Linked DNA regions of Homo sapiens: regions 1 and 2 are each linked to region 3. The links are contacts of gene promoters, found by promoter capture Hi-C in human tissues and cell types (Jung and others, 2019). All regions are on one chromosome and are shown on one strand. The core of a region is centred on a gene start or on the middle of the fragment in contact, and the rest is flanking DNA. Distances in the headings are between cores, read along the strand shown. Region 1 has its middle 100 kb from the start of GRIN2B. Region 2 overlaps ETV6 (ETS variant transcription factor 6). Region 3 holds the start of GPRC5A (G protein-coupled receptor class C group 5 member A).

What was found. The method cuts DNA at HindIII sites, captures the fragments that hold promoters and counts their contacts. A contact is called where the count stands out against the background at its distance.
Region 1: a contact is called between a fragment that was not itself captured here and the fragment with the promoter of GPRC5A in region 3, in 1 of the 25 tissues and cell types used here (dorsolateral prefrontal cortex).
Region 2: a contact is called between a fragment that was not itself captured here and the fragment with the promoter of GPRC5A in region 3, in 1 of the 25 tissues and cell types used here (IMR-90 fibroblasts).

Annotation. Positions count from the first base shown.
Region 1 is chr12:14,081,402-14,084,750 of GRCh38, forward strand. No RefSeq gene overlaps it. Among named protein-coding and RNA genes, the nearest start is that of GRIN2B, 100 kb to the left of the region's middle. The HindIII fragment of the contact is 4,357 bases long and covers 1-3,349 here.
Region 2 is chr12:11,706,596-11,709,616 of GRCh38, forward strand. All of the region lies in intron 1 of ETV6 (ETS variant transcription factor 6), which reads left to right. Among named protein-coding and RNA genes, the nearest start is that of ETV6, 58 kb to the left of the region's middle. The HindIII fragment of the contact is 6,682 bases long and covers 1-3,021 here.
Region 3 is chr12:12,889,924-12,892,997 of GRCh38, forward strand. It overlaps GPRC5A (G protein-coupled receptor class C group 5 member A), which reads left to right and starts at 1,639. Exons shown (of 4, transcript NM_003979.4): 1 at 1,639-1,741. The HindIII fragment of the contact is 16,829 bases long and covers 1-3,074 here.

The DNA.
Region 1 (3,349 bases), core at 36-2,535, 1.2 Mb after region 3:
GAAGGAAGCACTAAACATGGAAAGGAACAACCAGTACCAGCCACTGCAAAAACATGCCAAATTGTAAAGATCATCGATGCTAGGAAGAAACTGCATCAACTAACGAGCAAAATAACCAGCTAACATCATAATGACAGGATCAAATTCACACATAACAATATTAACCTTGAATGTAAATGGGCTAAATGCCCCAATTAAAAGACAAAGACTGGCAAATTGGATAGAGTCAAGACCCATCAGTGTGCTGTATTCAGGAGACCCATCTCACATGCAGAGACACACATAAACTCAGAATAAAGGGATGGAAGAAGATCTACCAAGCAAATGGAAGACAAAAAAAAGCAGGGATTGCAATCCTAGTCTCTGATAAAAGAGACTTTAAACCAACAAAGATCAAAAGAGACAAGGAAGACTGCTACATAATGGTAAAGGGATCAATTCAACAAGAACAGCTAACTATCCTAAATATATATGCACCCAATACAGGAGTACCCAGATTCATAAAGCAAGTCCTTAGAGACCTACAAAGAGACTTAGACTCCCACACAATAATAATGGGAGATTTTAACACCCCACTGTCAACATTAGACAGATCCACGAGAAAGAAAGTTAACAGGGTTATCCAGGAATTGAACTCAGCTCTGCACCAAGTGGACCAAATAGACATCTACAGAACTCTCCACCCCAAATCAACAGAATATACATTCTTCTCAGCACTACATCGCACTAATTCCAAAACTGACCACATAGTTGGAAGTAAAGCACTCCTCAGCAAATGTAAAAGAACAGAAATTATAACAAACTGTCTCTCAGGCCACAGTGCAATCAAACTAGAACTCAGGATTAAGAAACTCACTCAAAACCACTCAACTACGTGGAAACTGAACAACCTGTTCCTGAATGACTACTGGGTACATAACGAAATGAAGGCAGAAAGAAAGTGCTCTTTGAAACCAATAAGAACAAAGACACAACATACCAGAATCTCTGGGACACATTCAAAGCAGTGTGTAGAGGGAAATTTATAGAAACTAAATGCCCACAAGAGAAAGCAGGAAAGATCTAAAATTGACACCCTAACATCACAATTAAAAGAACTAGAGAAGCAAGAGCAAACACATTCAAAAGCAGCAGAAGGCAAGAAATAACTAAGATCAGAGCAGAACTGAAGGAGATAGAGACACAAAAAACCCTTCAAAAAATCAATGAATCCAGGAGCTGGTTTTTTGAAAAGATAAACAAAACTGACAGATCGCTAGCAAGACTAATAAAGAAGAAAAGAGAGGAGAATCAAATAGATGCAATAAAAAATGATAAAGGGGATATCACCACAGATCTCACAGAAATACAAACTACTATCAGAGAATACTATAAACATCTCTACCCAAATAAACTAGAAAATCTAGAAGAAATGGATAAATTCCTGGGCACCTACACCCTCCCAAGACTAAACCAGGAAGAAGTTGAATCCCTGAATAGATCAATAACAGGCTCTGAAATTGAGGCAGTAATTAATAGCCTATCAACCAAAAAAAGTCCAGGACCAGATGGATTCACAGTTGAATTCTACCAGAGGTACAAGGAGGAGCTGGTACCATTCCTTCTGAAAATATTCCAATCAATAGAAAAAGAGGGAATCCTCCCTAACTCATTTTATGAGGCCAGCATCATCCTGATACCAAGGCCTGGTGGAGACAAAACAAAAAAAGAATTTTAGACCAATATCCCTGAAGAACATTGATGCAAAAATCCTCAATAAAATACTGGCAAACCGAATCCAGCAGCACATCAAAAAGCTTATCCACCATGATCAAGTGGACTTCATCCCTGGGATGCAAGGTTGGTTCAACATACGCAAATCAATAAATGTAATCCATCATACAAACAGAACCAAAGACAAAAATCACATGATTATCTCAAAAGATGCAGAAAAGGCCTTTGACAAAATTCAACAGTCCTTCATGCTAAAAACTCTCAATAAATTAGGTATTGACGGGACGTATCTCAAAATACTAAGAGCTATTTGTGACAAACCCACACCCAATATCATACTGAATGGGCAAAAACTGGAAGCATTCCCTTTGAAAACTGGCACAAGACAGGGATGCCCCCTCTCACCACTCCTATTCAACATAGTGTTGGAAATTCTGGCCAGGGCAATGGGCAGGACAAAGAAATACAGGGTATTCAATTAGGAAAAGAGGAAGTCAAATTGTTCCTATTTGCAGATGACATGATTGTATATTTAGAAAACCCCATCAGCTCAGCCCAAAGTCTCCTTAAGCTAATAAGCAACTTCAGCAAAGGCTCAGGATACAAAATCAGGGTACAAAAATCACAAGCATTCTTACACACCAGTAACAGACAAACAGAGAGCCAAATCATGAGTGAACTCCCATTCACAATTACTACAAAGAGAATAAAATACCTAGGAATCCAACTTACAAGGGATGTGAAGGACCTCTTCAAGGAGAACTACAAACCACTGCTCAATGAAATAAAAGAGGACACAAACAAATGGAAGAATATTCCATGCTCATGGATAGGAAGAATCAATATCGTGAAAATGGCCATACTGCCCAAGATAATTTATAGATTCAATGCCATCCCCATCAAGCTACCAATGACTTTCTTCACAGAATTGGAAAAAACTACTTTAAAGTTCATATGGAACCAAAAAAAGCCCGCATTGCCAAGACAATCCTAAGCAAAAAGAACAAAGCTGGAGGCATCACGCTACCTGACTTCAAACTATACTGCAAGGCTACAGTAACCAAAACAGCATGGTACTGGTACCAAAACAGAGATATAGACCAATGGAACAGAATAGAGGCCTCAGAAATAATACCACACATCTACAACCATCCAATCTTTGACAAATCTGACAAAAACAAGAAATGGGGAAAGGATTCCCTATTTAATAAATGGTGTTGGGAAAACTGGCTAGCCATATGTAGAAAGCTGAAACTGGATCCCTTCCTTACACCTTACACAAAAATTAATTCAAGATGGATTAAAGACTTAAATGTCAGACCTAAAACTATAAAAACCCTAGAAGAAAACCTAGGCAATACCATTCAGGACATAGGCATGGGCAAGGACTTCATGGCTAAAACACAAAAAGCAATGGCAACAAAAGCCAAAATTGAGCAATGGGATCTAATTAAACTAAAGAGCTTCTGCACAGCAAAAGAAACTACCATCAGAGTGAACAGGCAACCTATAGAATGGGAGAAAATTTTTGCAATCTATCCATCTGACAAAGGGCTAATATCCAGAATCTACAAAGAACTTAAACAAATTTACAAGAAAAAAAACAAACAACCCCATCAAAAAGTGGGCAAAGGAT
Region 2 (3,021 bases), core at 305-2,804, 1.2 Mb before region 3:
GTTTTAGGTGCTAGGAGATAGTAGGGCCACCTGCACTGTTTTGTGAGCAGGACAGATAAGAGGCAAGTGGAGAGGGTGGGAGAGCACTGGCTTGCATCATACACCCCAGCTGCCCTTGCAGGGCCCGACTGTTACAAGCCAGGTATTTCTAGGACGATTGCATTCCTAGCCATATCTGTTTTCTTTCAGATGGGGCGTACAATTTACCTTTTGAGTTCTGTAAATGGAATCGAGGTGAAATCTTTACTCTGGTGCACATATGACCTGCAGGTTGATGCTGCTTGTTTGGAAAGCCCTCTACTTCACAGCGAACAGTTTGTACTGTCAGGTAGACCTCTCTGCCAGGGGACCAACTCCTGTGTATTTGAAAAGGAAGACAAACCTGTATTTTGTAGAAAGGGTCTATTGTTCCCAGGGGGTGGTTGTGGCCAACTTCTTGGACTCCTTTGGCTGACTCTGAAGAAGGAATTGAAGTCAGAATGCTAATCACTGACTTGCACAGGCCTCAACAATCAAACCTCAGGGAACTCAGAAGAAAGTAAACAAGAGCGCTCAATTGCAGAGTCTTGAAGAAGAGCAGCTGTGTAAAGGAGGCTAGACGTGAAAAAAACGTGTTGGAGAGGAAAAAAAATCACATTCCCTGCTTCTCAAATGGGAAGTCTTAAAAATAATAAAGAATCCTGAGCAGCGGGCTCATTTCCCATGAGCAGGCTTGCTGTGGCAGGCAGGCTCACCTGCTAGAGGTGGTCTCCTGGCTTAGAATGGGAGCACACCTGTGGGAATCGCAGCGCTTCTCTACCTGAGCTGGATGTAGATTGTTTGAAAATCCTAGTTGTGCACTGCGTTTCCATCGATCCCTTTCATGCTCCCACTTGTTCCTTTAGTTCCAAATAGCAGGCTGGTGTTGAGAATTCTGTCATCATGGGGCGTTTTTTTCTAAATGTGAGAAATGTCGGAAGCATGGGTGTTCTCAGATTGCTTTAGCCACTGATGATTTTCCTTTTAGTGTATGGAAAGAATGATTTTCTTCTCAATTTCTCCCCTCTAACCTCCTGCATGTAGATTTATGGATTCTAATCGGGACCTTTCTTTGATTCAGTGCCAGGTACACAGGCCCCGAGTCGTATGTGGCAAGTGGCCAAGGGGATCGGTCCTGGAGAACGTCATGGCACACAGGCATTGGCCATGGAGTGGTGATCCCTGGCTCTGGTTCTTCTCCGTCCAGTGACCTGGCATGTCACCTCACAGGGCCATATTTACCTGTTAACTGAGAAACTGAACTAGAACATGGTTATGATAATTTTAATCTCAACTTTGTCTCCTCCTATCTTATGGCAGTAAAGTGACCTTTTAGCAGGATCAATTTATAAGCCGTTTGAAGTCTATCTTTTCTTCCCTTAGCAGTTGTATTTGTGATTTTCTCAGCCTGATTTTAAGTTATTCTGTTATAATTTTGAATGTTCTGTTATGCTTCCCTCTGTGGTGAGCATACGTCGAAAGCTGTACATTTCCTTCAGGGTAACCTTTGTTTCCAACAGGAGAGAGTTCTCACTACCACATCCAGCCTTGATCTCTTTAACCTAAATTGGAATAAGCCAGACAGAGCTGGGGTTCATGGGACAGATGGGAGCATCTCAAGTTTAGGGTTGGGGAGTCTCAGTGAAAAAAAAAAAAAAAAGAACAAGAATGTAGACTTGGAATTTGAGAACAGATAAAGCAGTCCTCACTTGTGCTCTGCAAGGGAGTGCTGTTGTCTTCTAAGGTATTGAACAGACTGGGTGGGAAGCTGCTGAAAGACTGGAAATTTGGGGACTTAGCAAGAAGTATAATGGTGCTGTAACTGCGTTTTCTTAAGGAAACTTGGAGCTGAGGTGCCACCTCCCTGGGAGGGACTTTTCCACTGGTTTCTTGCAGTCTGGACATCACAGACGGCCCAGACTCCCCCCTGTCTTGTGTACATTCCCTTCTACAAGCCTTGCTGTGTTATCACAGGTACCACTTGTAGGCCAGTATCATGGGGGATGGACATTGTTTCATTCTAGGCACATTCAGGAATCGTATATGTACCCTGCCTCGCTTCTGACCTCTCAAGTCAACTTTTGGAGCTGTTAGTGACTTCCAGAAAGCTGACACCCAGTGCCACTCAACCAACCCTGCTTTTCTGCTGGTTTATTTTTGTTATTCCTACCCCGACTCATCTTGCTTTTCAGCCATCAATGAGAATTTATTGAGTTACTCAGACACTCACTCAGACCCTGTGGGAGAGTAGAAAGATGTGTAAGAAACTGTCCCAGAATTTTGAGGGACTTAAAATCCATTCGAAAAGGCAAGGTCTAAGCACATGAAAAGTTACCTAGCAATATCAGCTCATGAATGGAGAGACAGTTGATCAGAGAAAGAGAAATGTCTGTTCAGGAGTGGTCAGGGGAGGCTGCATTGAGGTGATGCACACGTGTGGCCTGAAAGCTTGATTCGTTCCCCACCCCCCATTGTATTCTATATGTAATATTTGATATATAACCAAGAAGCTATGTGAGTTACAAAGCATGATGATACAGTGAACACCTATGAACTCACCACCCAACATAAGAACCAAAATGACTGATATTGATACCCTACCTATATACCTCTACCTTCTTCCTCATTCTACCCCTGCCCTCTTATCCCAGTTAGCCACTGTCTTAAATTTTACAGATTTTATTCCGTTCCTTTTTTTCTTTTTTGAAAGCGTTTGATCTTTTCTTCTCTCCTCCTCTCCTCTCCTCTCCTCTCTTCTTCTTTTCTTTCTTTTCGAGATGAGGTCTCGCTATGTTGTGCAGGCTGGTCTGGAACTCCTGAGCTCAAATGATCCTCCCACCTTAACCTCCCAATAGCTGAGAATATAGGCCTGTACCACTGCACCTGGCTAGATCTCATGTTTTCTTTGGAAATCTAGTAATTGTGATATAGGATCTCTGAATGCAGAACACCTAGGGCACAAGTGATGCTTAATTTTATGTGTCAACTTAGATGGGCCACAGT
Region 3 (3,074 bases), core at 389-2,888:
AAAATTAGCCAGGTGTGGTAATGCACACATGTGGTCCTGGGTGCTTGGGAGGCTGAGGTGGAAGGATAGCTTGAGCCTGGGTGATTGAGGCTGCAGTGAGCCGATTGTGCCATTGTACTCCAGCCTGGGTGACGGCGAGACCTTGTCTAAAAAAGAAAAAACACACAAAAAATAAAAAACAAATGTGGCTTATGTTTGTGGCTTGAATTATAGTTCTATTGTACAATGGTAGTCTAGTTCAACTTCTTGAACAGACGAGAACGCTGGGGTCCGGAGAGAAGCCCTGACTTAGCGGATGGCACACACTATAAAGCACTGTCATTTGCAGTCCCACCAGTCTCTCAGTACCCACCCCCACTCTGCCACACACACCCCTGGGAGTCTTAGGTGTGAAATGGGTGGACTCACAGACCCCTGGGCTGCATACCTCAAAGTGTTCCAACACTCAAGGCACTGCCTGTGGTTTTTTGGGAGTGAAATAAAAACCTAACAATGGTGGGGTCACAGTCTCCAGTAGGTCACATTTTAAAAGCACTTTAGGCTCTGGAGACTTGGGGTGTGGGGAGAAGTGAAGAGAAAGCTGGGGAGCCCTGGGCCTTCCCCCATTTCTTCATATGCAGAATAATCCAGATTAGTTTACCAAGCGCGCTGATAACCACTTTAAAAACAGAGTCCCTCCTGCCTCCCCGTGGCATGGGGTAGAACCTGGCTTGAGCCCCGACACAGGCGGGCAGCCACTCCAGGATCGTTCCACACGTAAACAAAGACGAGTTTCGGTCCGATTGGCTTGATCCTGGAAGAGGAGTGGGCAGTGGAGGGAGGGGAAACCAGGCACCAAAGCAAATTCCTTCATTTCATAATTTCATCTGGCGCCCCCGTTCAATCAGCCTGCATTGTCGAGGCTTTAGGAGAGGCAGTTAGGAAAGGAGAGATACTGATCTCTCAGCCCCAGGGCAGCACTAATGGTGCCTGTCTAGACTCTGACAGGTGGAGCTGCTGAGCTAACTACGGACCTGGTGGGGGAAGTTTTCCTTGGCTTTCACGTGGCTTTGGCTGGGGAGCCCTGAGAAGGTGGCTGCCTCCTTTTTCTGAAGCCTGGCTTCCCATACGGCAGTGGCTGGGGGAGAGTGATGGAGAGAAAGGCTAAGCTAAGGTCAAAGAAAGTGGAGGAAGGCTGGCTTGTCCCGCTGGACTTGACGGCGGAGCTGCTGCAATCTCGCGGGCTGGGCCCTTGCCCCGGGTGGACCCGAGTGCCTGCGGGGAGGCGGGTGTGGCTCCCCCGGGAGGTGACAGCTGGCGGGGCCCGTAAGGAGCTGGTCTGCTCCGGCTCCCCTCTCGTAGCCGGCGCCCTGGGACCAGCGCGTGAGCACGTCTCGGAGGAGTCCGATGCGCTGGGCAGGGCCGGGTGGTCACCCCCGCCCAGCTTCCAGGGGTGACTGTGCCTCTGACGTCAGACGGTTTTTGGGTCATTCCCTGGCACGGGGACTTTATTTTCATAACAGCATGAAGTGCCGTGGAACTGGAATAGGCGTGTCCTCTCCCTCGACCCTCCCCCTCCTTGTCCCTCTGCTCACCCCTCGCTCGTTCCCTCCCTCCGGCGAGGGCCGCCTTTATAACAACTGCTCAGAGTGCGAGGGCGGGATAGCTGTCCAAGGTCTCCCCCAGCACTGAGGAGCTCGCCTGCTGCCCTCTTGCGCGCGGGAAGCAGCACCAAGTTCACGGCCAACGCCTTGGCACTAGGGTAAGTGAGGCGCCAGGAGCCCAGAGCGCTGGGGCCTCCGGATTTAAATCGTCTGGGGAGAGCGGGGCGTTGGGAGGGGTGGGATAGAAGAGGAGAGAAATCCTGGTAATGGAATACAGTTGGCTATGAGAAAAAAATTCCCTAGGAAACAGTTCCTCTAGTTTAACAACTCAGATTTTTTTTTTTTTTTTTCCCCTTTGCGGGTTTCCTAGGCTAAGATAGAGGCAGAGAGCAAAGAGATAATCAGGGTAATAGTTTCTGCTCGGACACATTCTACAAACTTTGAGTAGATGGAATCCGGCCAGGCAGGAGGTGAGCAGCTCTGGGATCACTCTGCAGGAAAAGAATAGAGGGAGAAAGATCTCAGAGGACCCGAAGGTACTGGGAGTGGAGGGGGAGTGGGAAACAAGGGGCAGGGGCAGGAGGGAGGACACGGTGACAGCTACTATTTTACCCAGATGCTGCAAAAAGCCCTTCTGAGTTTTGGGAATTAGATCTAGAAGCCCATCCCTTTTCTCTTGATGTGTGGGCGGTCAGTTCCACTCTGGTGTGCCTTGAGTTGCTCAGAAACCTGGGACAGATGAAAGTTGAATGTGCGCTGAGAGTGCACCTTCCACTACCGACTTTATGGATAGGATTTGGGAATAGCATAGATGCTGTTCCATCTGGTCCCTTAAACATCCATGGGGAAGGCTGGCAAATAGCTTTATTTTATTTTTTGAGATGGAGTTTCACTCTTGTTGCCCAGGCTGGAGTACAATGTTGCGATCTCAGCTCACCGCGACCTCCACCTCCCGGGTTCAAGCGATTCTCCTGCCTCAGACTCCCGAGTAGCTGGGATTACAGGCATGCACCACCACTCCTGGTTAATTTTGTATTTTTAGTAGAGACGGGGTTTCCCCATGTTGGTCAGGTTGGTCTCAAACTCCCGACCTAAGGTGATCTGCCCGCCTCAGCCTCCCAAAGTGCTGGGATTACAGGTGTGAGCCCCCGCGCCCGGCCACAGATAGCTTTAAACATCCATGGGAAAGGCTAGCTAACAGCTGAAACCTGCTCAGAATCAAGGAATTTGAAGGACTTTCCATTCCTGACTTCTTTCCATTCCTGATTGTCTCCTCAGAGGCTTGTGTAAACACCACACCTGTTGAAGGGTTCGGCCGAATCAGCCACTGCTGTGGGTTCATTCCTGAAGGGGAACACTTCAGCTACTTCAGACACAATGGGCTAGGGACCACGGGAGGGGTGAGGGCGGAGGGGGCACACACCCTCCAGGTTTGCATGCCGGTGTCTGCTAGGTGAGGGAAGGAATGAGGGGAAGGAAGGGCCGGGAGAG